2 separate regions of the Homo sapiens genome follow, and region 1 is linked to region 2. Evidence: promoter capture Hi-C in 16 types of primary human blood cells and fetal thymus (Javierre and others, 2016). All regions are on one chromosome and are shown on one strand. The core of a region is centred on a gene start or on the middle of the fragment in contact, and the rest is flanking DNA. Distances in the headings are between cores, read along the strand shown. Region 1 overlaps CCSER2 (coiled-coil serine rich protein 2). Region 2 holds the start of BMPR1A (bone morphogenetic protein receptor type 1A).

Region 1 (3,833 bases), core at 54-2,553, 2.4 Mb before region 2:
TTTTATAGAGTGGAATGATGGGTGGAATCACCTATACCATTAATGTTCCTCTAGCTCTGGAAAGTAATTTTACTTTGTCTAAATTCAAATATATATGTGTTGGGAGGCTGAGATGGGAAGATCACCTGAGCTCAGGAGTTGAGGCTGCAGTGAGCTGTGATAGCACCACTGCATGCTGGCTTGGGTGACAGTGAGACCCTATCTAAATATATATATATGTATATATGTGTATATATATATACATATACATATATGTATATATATATACACACACACACGTGTATATATATATTTATTAATTATACACAGACACGTAATGTGATTGCCTCAACTATTCCCTCCTCCACCATCTCCACTCTTTTCAGGTACAGAAGTTCATTTATTTACAAACAGTTTTAAGTTCTGAAAGGCTGTTCATAAATTCTTTTTGTAAATAATCGCTAACATTTTCCTTTGGTGTCAGGCATTGCTGAGAAACTTTCATTTTGATTGGTTGCCTTGTTCATATGTACAGAAGCTTATGAGTTGAAAGTAGAGGAGTTTCTGTATGTGGGACCTGTGAACCTAGGCATTTACTGTCTCCTGGTCCTAGGACCCTGCTTTGCTTAGTGAAGTTTGCTCTTCAGAAAGATTCCTGTAACCTTCTCCCACTGGAAATGACTCAAGACCAGGAATATCTAATTTTCAGGACATACACTTTTTTGTCCCAACTTTTTTTTTTCTTTTTAAAAAGTGCTTTATGTCCAAAGGATTACTTAATTCCCCTAGGATGAGTTAATTCAGGCATTACTGTATCAATAGTATTTTATACAGTTGTGGAATTGGGAGGGGACTTCATTTATCTCCCCCTGGTGCACCTGCAACTCTGAAGGGTCCATTGTATCTGGGGGAAACAGAATGGAATGTAAAAAATGTTTAGTTGATTTATGTGAGGGTCAGGTCAAGAACAGGTTAAACTAATTACGATAATAGGGGTTAAAATAGAGCAGTGGTTCCACAGTGTTTGTGTGTATCAGAATCACCTGGAAGGCTTTATTAAAACAAGATCTCTGGGCTCTACAGAATTGCTGAGCACTATATCTAAGGTAAGGCCTTAGAAAATCTATTTTTAACAAGTTTCTAGGTGTTATTGATGCTACTGCTGATCAGCCTTGGTCAGGGTAGTTAGAAGTTTATGATTTTGCTAATTCAAGAGTCCTTTGTCTTTTGTAGGAGGAGTTAAATGTAGAGATCCAGGGTTTGGGAGTTCTCTGAATAGGGGTATATAAGTGCTCCTGAGAGAGAATGAAAATGAATGCTAAGAGAAGGAGGATAATGTGGAATGTGCTGAAATTTATTTCCTATCTCTTTCCCTGATGAAAGCATCCTTATTTGGGGTTTACTTTTTTATTTTTATTTTATTTTTTTTTTCTGAGACAGAGTCTCACTCTGTTGTCCAGGCTGGAGTGCAGTCGTGCAATGTCAGCTCACTGCAACTTCCACCTCCCGAGTTCAAGTGATTCTCCTATCTCAGCCTCCCAAGTAGCTGGGATTATAGGCACCTGCCACCACACCCAGCTGATTTTTGTATTTTTAGTAGAGATGGGGTTTCACCATCTTGGCCAGGCTGGTCTGGAACTCCTGACCTCAGGTGATCACCTGTCTCAACCACCTAAAGTGCTGGGATGACAGGTGTGAGCCACTGTGCCTGGCTGGGGTTTACTTTTTTAAATGGAAGTTTTATATGGATGTTTTCAAACATCATGTGTAGAGAAAACAGCATAATTAATCCCTGGTGTTATTTACCACTTACCTTTTAATAGTTTCAGTTTTAACTGTCACACTCCCTTTTTTGAGGGGTGTTTTGATATTTAATGGAGTGTTTCAGATTTTCTTACTTTGTGATTCTATCTTTTTTTCTGTATTTATCAGTTGTGGTTCTTCTATAAAGAAGATTTTCCATCAATTTTTTGGTTACTTTGAAATACAAGAAGAGCAGGATACATGCTTATTTCTTTTATCAATTTGTAGAATAAGTTGTCTTTGCAGTAAGGCTTATTTTTACTATTTATAGGAGTAGAAGCAGTTTGAGGCTTTTAATTTTTTAAGAGAAGCTTTAAAAAATGAAGTATAACTTACATACAATAAAATACATAAATCTTAAATGATGTACTCTTGGTGAATTTTACACCATCCAGATCAAGTTGCCAATGTCTCAGTCAACCCCTTTTCAGTTAGCCCGCTCTTGCAGAGTTAGTCTCTGTCCCAGGGATTTCCAACGTATGAATTCCAGATCGGCAGAATCAACATCACCTGGAAACTTGTTAAAAATACTTTTTCCTAAGGCCTTACCTTTGATATGTTGGTTCAGAAACTCTGGGAGTGGAGTCCAGAGATCTTGTTTTAATGAAGTCTTCCGGGTGATTCTGATACACACAAGCACTGTGGAACCACTGCTGTATTCTAACACATATTATCATAATTACTTTAATCAGTTCTTGACCTTACTCTCACATAAATGGATCAACTGAACATTTCTCCCATTCCATTCTGTTTCCTCCACATGCACTGGATTTTTTTCCTGTGCCCCTGGGTGAGAAGTCTTGCTGCTGCTTCCCCAGCAGTTTAAGGCTTTTGCTTCAGAGGACAGAAGGAGGCAGGGAAGTGAGAGGGTTTGTGTTTGTTCCAGTGCAGGCTTTCATCACCTCCTGCATGCCTGTGCCGTTAAGAGGGGGCTTTCTTATATGTTTCTCTTGAATGCTAGGTTGAGGCCCATGAGGAAGAGCTTGCTGTTGTGCTAGTCCACATTTGGCTTTTAAGCAGACATTAAAATGTTAGCTTATTACTCCTTTTTATGGTGGTCATTTCTGTCTTTTATGCTCAGCCAAAAGTGAAACTGTTAAATGTCCCGTCTCTCCTGGGAGGGGCTTGTCTCCCTTTGGAATTTGGTTGACTTGCTTGCCTTACAATAACAGCTTTCTGATGGGCTTATGAAAGGTTATGATTTTGAAGATTATCTGGCTCTTCCAGGTTTTTAGGTAGGAGTGATATTAATTGCAGCTTTTTACATCGAAAATGGAAATCTGACCTTCATATAAATGGAATCACACTATATTTATCCTCAAGTCTCTGGATTCTCTTGTTTAAAGGATCCTGTTAGTTTTATCTGTATTGTTGCATATAGCAATAATTAGGTCTTCATTACCATGTTGTATTCTATTATGTAGAAACTACCACTAACATTTTTCTTTTTTTTTTTTGAGATGGAGTTTCGCTCTTGTTGTCCAGGCTAGAGTGCAGTGGTGCAATCTCACCTCACTGCAACCTCTGCGTTTTGGATTTTTGGATTCTCCTGCCTCAGCCTCCCGAGTAGCTGGGATTACAGGCATGCACCACCATGCCTGGCTAATTTTGTATTTTGAGTAGAGACAGGGTTTCTCCACATTGGTCAGGCTGGTCTTGAACTCCCGACCTCAGGTGATCCGCCCACCTCGGCCTCCCAAAGTGCTGGGATTACAGGCGTGAGCCACCGTGCCTGGCCTCACTAACATTTTTCTATGAAACTATAATTCTAACGTATGTAGATGTTTACAAAATGTTTCATGTTTAGGTATTTACTGTTTGTCATATACTGAGCAAGCTGGGGCTTGAGTAGTGTATTCTGGTGAATCAAACCCAGTATGTGCCATTAGTGAATTTATGGCCTAGTAGTCTTCCATCCATGTTAATGTTACTCCTGTTACTGTTCTTCCTGATGCTGGATCTCCTATGGCCCTGTCCCTACTGCCCATTTAATTTAATATAGGGAACTTTGCTCAAGCAGATCCTGTATAGACTGAAATGTTAAATGTTTG
Region 2 (3,849 bases), core at 985-3,484:
CACGACTTAAAATTTGATGCTTCAATTTTGCTCTCATTTCTACAGTGGCAGATAACACAAGCCAGGGAATACTCATTTGTACATTTCAGAAACTTGATGTACTAAGGTTCCCACCTGAGATTGTTGTCTATTTTATAGACCAATTCATATGTCTAAAAATCCAACTAGACTATAAAGAGCATAATAACACGCTTGCCATGGTTTTCTCTGCCGACACATTGCTCAGCATACGTCAATGAGAGCTTTGACCAATCAATGTGAATCTCCTTAAGCAAAAGGCCCATCTTTTCCTTTAGAACTAAAGCTGGGGCTGGGCGCAGTGGCTCACGCTTGTAATCCCAGCACTTTGGGAGGCCGAGGCGGGAGGATCACGAGGTCAGGAGATCGAGAACACCTATTAACACGGTGACACCCCGTCTGTACTAAAAATACAAAAAGTTAGCCGGGCGTGGTGGCGGGCGCCTGTAGTCCCAGCTGCTCAGGAGGCTGAGGCAGGAGAATGGCGTGAACCCAGGAGGCGGAGCTTGCAGTGAGCCGAGATGGCGCCACTGCACTTCAGCCTGGGCGACAGAGCGAGACTCCGTCTCAAAAAAAAAAGAACAAAAAAACCCCAAAAAACAAAAAAACTAAAACTGGGTATTATGAAGGAAACTTGAGAAAGAAAAGTGACCAATTTTAGTTGATGCAAGTAATCTCACGTATCCTCTTCTTCCTGCATAGCAAGATACTACAACCCATGACTGTCAAACCTGAGACAGCTGAAGAGCCCAGAAAAAAAGATTAGGGAAGAAAACAGAATTGAAAAATAATTCAGAATGACAGAGGCTATCTGCAGCATTAAGGGCAAAGGCGGGTAAAAGAAGAAAAGGGAGACAGAATAAAAGATAAACCAAAAAATTGAAACAAAATACACGGGAATTCAAACATTTATACCAGAATATAAGGGAATACCCTGGAATCTAAACACCTCTTCAGGCAAGAATGTGTGTCAATACAAATGCCTGGCACATTGTTTTCCTTCCCCCTTTCTTTTTACCCAGTTTACCCAGTTTTAAAAGTGATTTTTTAAAATGCACCTTTAAAAGAACATCTTTTGTTAAGTGACTTAAACTTGATACATTTCTTGGATTACTAAGGAGGTTAAAGTCACATTTGGTGAAAAAGGGGCCTATCTCCTCTTTCCTCACATACGGGTCATCGAATACTTTTAAAAGCATTTTCCACCATGAATGAGGGGAAATGGAAGAAAAGAGGTGGTGACAATTATTTGCATTTTCCAAATGGACGGAATGAGCCTCCGGAGGGTACACGAGGTCACCAGCGTGAGCCCGCGGTGGAGCTGGAGGCGTATTTATAGCTGGCTGACCTCAGTCCTGTTGGGCCCTCGCCGCTCCTTATCTTATGCCGCTGGAATTCGCGGGCTCGCAGGTCACAGGAGCCCGGGCGCGCCGGGCCTGGCGCTCCCGAATCGATGAGGGAAGCCGCTCTCCCCGGCAGATCCTCCCGGCCGGGGAGCCTCCATCACCCTGCCTGCGCCTCGGCACGCTGGCAAGGAGCCCGGGAAGAGACGCCGGGAGCGGTGGGTGGGCGAGAAACAAATGCAATGTGACTTATATTTTTCTTTGTCGCAACTACCACGACCTGGCCATCCCCCACCTTGGTGACTTGGTGCCTTCCCAGCGACCTTATTTCACGCCAGCTGACTGGCGTTCACCGCAGTGTGAGTGTCGGCCGGAGGAGGGGTCCACGCGAAAGAGCCCGCGAGAGTGGGGATATCCGGCCCCGAAGGCCGGAGCGGGCGTCCAGGGCGCCGATGGCCGCAGCGCCCGGCAGCCGTGTCCACGCTCCCCTCCGCCGCGTTCCATCGCGTGCTACCTACGGCGTCTGCGGGAAGCTACCCGGGCGGCAGCTGTGGGGCTGGCTTGTGGGGAGGGGCCGGCGGGCCCGCGCGGAGGAGCAGCCCCGACTCCCGCCCGCACCAGCAGCTCGGCGCCCCCTTGCCGGCGGCTGGCCCTCCTCCCCGGCAACTGGGCGCCGGGCTCCGCGAACTCTTCGGGCGCTTCCGCCGTGCGCTCGGCTCTTTTCGTGTCCGGGGCGGGGCGGGGCAGGCGCCCGTGGTCGGGTGCGCGCGGCGCGGGCGGGGGCCTTCCCAGTGCGCGCGCGCCGTGCAAGGCCCGCGGACGCCCGCCCCTCCCCCAGGCCCCCGCACCCGCGCCGCCCCCTCCCCTCCTGGCAAGAGTCGGCGGCGGTGGCGGCGGCCGCTGCAGAGATTGGAATCCGCCTGCCGGGCTTGGCGAAGGAGAAGGGAGGAGGCAGGAGCGAGGAGGGAGGAGGGCCAAGGGCGGGCAGGAAGGCTTAGGCTCGGCGCGTCCGTCCGCGCGCGGCGAAGATCGCACGGCCCGATCGAGGGGCGACCGGGTCGGGGCCGCTGCACGCCAAGGGCGAAGGCCGATTCGGGCCCCACTTCGCCCCGGCGGCTCGCCGCGCCCACCCGCTCCGCGCCGAGGGCTGGAGGATGCGTTCCCTGGGGTCCGGGTGAGTTGGGAGTGCGCGTGCGGACCGGAGGGGCTGGCCGCAGCGGGGAGGCCAGAGGGGCTCGGGCGAGGCTGCAGAGGCAGCTGGGCGCGCGGTGGCCGGAGCCAGGGGCTGCCCGGCCCGGCCCCGGCAGCTCCGCAGGCCTCGGCGCGCGCTGGGCCGGGACCGCCCAGCCAGAGACCCACGGCACCCCGCGCCGCGTCCCCCGCCGGCCCCTCTTTTGTCTCCCACTCGCGGGTTGCAGGCCGAGTTTGGGGATGCGGAGTGGGCGAAAGTCGCTCCGGGGACGCTTCTGGAATCCTTAAATGGGAAAGGCGCTCACCTCCCCGCCCCGGAGCGGCGAGGCTGATATTTGTGATTTGGCTCCGGACGCTGTGGGGAGGAACAGGGGAGAACAAAATGAGTTTCGGGCGGGGGTCGAGTGAGAGGAGCAGCCGGCCCGCCCCCGAGTCCCCGCGGGAAGGGGCCCTGGCCCCCGAGCTCCCGGAGCTGCTTCACCTGTTGTCCTGCGCGGCCTCCGCTCCGTGGCCTGGTGATTCCGTACTTCAGTTTTGGAAAACTTTCTGCTGGATTGCCTGGACCCTTTTTTCTCTTTCCAGACTCCTAGTGGAAAGATTTGGCAAGGAAAAAAAAATGAGCTTGCGTCAGGGAAGAAAAATAATATGCTGTGTGTTAGGGTCTGGCGTTTGAGCGTGGTACTCTTTCATGCTCTCAGATGTTTTAATTTGGTCAAACTCCTGCAGGTTTTCTCTTTTAAGCGGTTAACAAACTGTTCAGAGTACATAGTATGAACTTGGCACCTGTGTTACGTCATTTAATCCTTACAACGATTCTGGTTTATTGTATTCCTCATTGTTTTAGGGGAAGAAACCGAGTCGCAAAGAGGTTAACTAACTTGTCTAAGGGAGCTGGGATTTGAACCCAGGAACATCGTATTCTGGCAAACGAATTAGGAAGAAAAAAAACCAAAACTGTTTGCAAACACTTTTACGTTTAGGAACATTTTTCAGTTACTCTTACTTGAAATTATCGCTATTTTGTTGCTGGAGTTGAAAACAACTACTTTATTGTATTTACTTGTGAGAGGAGTTAAACTTTGAATTAGAGTGTAACTTAATGCGTCTCATTGTTTTCAGTTGTTGAAATAAAGAATGTGAACCAGAATTATTTAGATTTTTAAATTTGAAGCTAAAATATGGGCAATTCTCTGATCTAGGAATGGGGTGAGTGTATGAAAGGCCGATTGAAATGTAGAATGCGTTTTTAGTAGAACCAGACTCAGTTCTTGTTTAATTTTTCCTCCATTTTCCGTGG

Evidence for each region. The method cuts DNA at HindIII sites, captures the fragments that hold promoters and counts their contacts. A CHiCAGO score of 5 or more calls a contact.
Region 1: a contact is called between a fragment that was not itself captured here and the fragment with the promoter of BMPR1A in region 2, in 1 of 17 cell types (naive CD8 T cells). The highest score is 5.5, in naive CD8 T cells.

The regions. Positions count from the first base shown.
Region 1 is chr10:84,358,420-84,362,252 of GRCh38, forward strand. The region is part of intron 1 of CCSER2 (coiled-coil serine rich protein 2); the gene reads left to right. Among named protein-coding and RNA genes, the nearest start is that of CCSER2, 32 kb to the left of the region's middle. The HindIII fragment of the contact is 1,576 bases long and covers 516-2,091 here.
Region 2 is chr10:86,754,385-86,758,233 of GRCh38, forward strand. It overlaps BMPR1A (bone morphogenetic protein receptor type 1A), which reads left to right and starts at 2,235. Exons shown (of 13, transcript NM_004329.3): 1 at 2,235-2,535. RefSeq lists a silencer at 1,748-2,717. The HindIII fragment of the contact is 8,878 bases long and covers 1-3,849 here.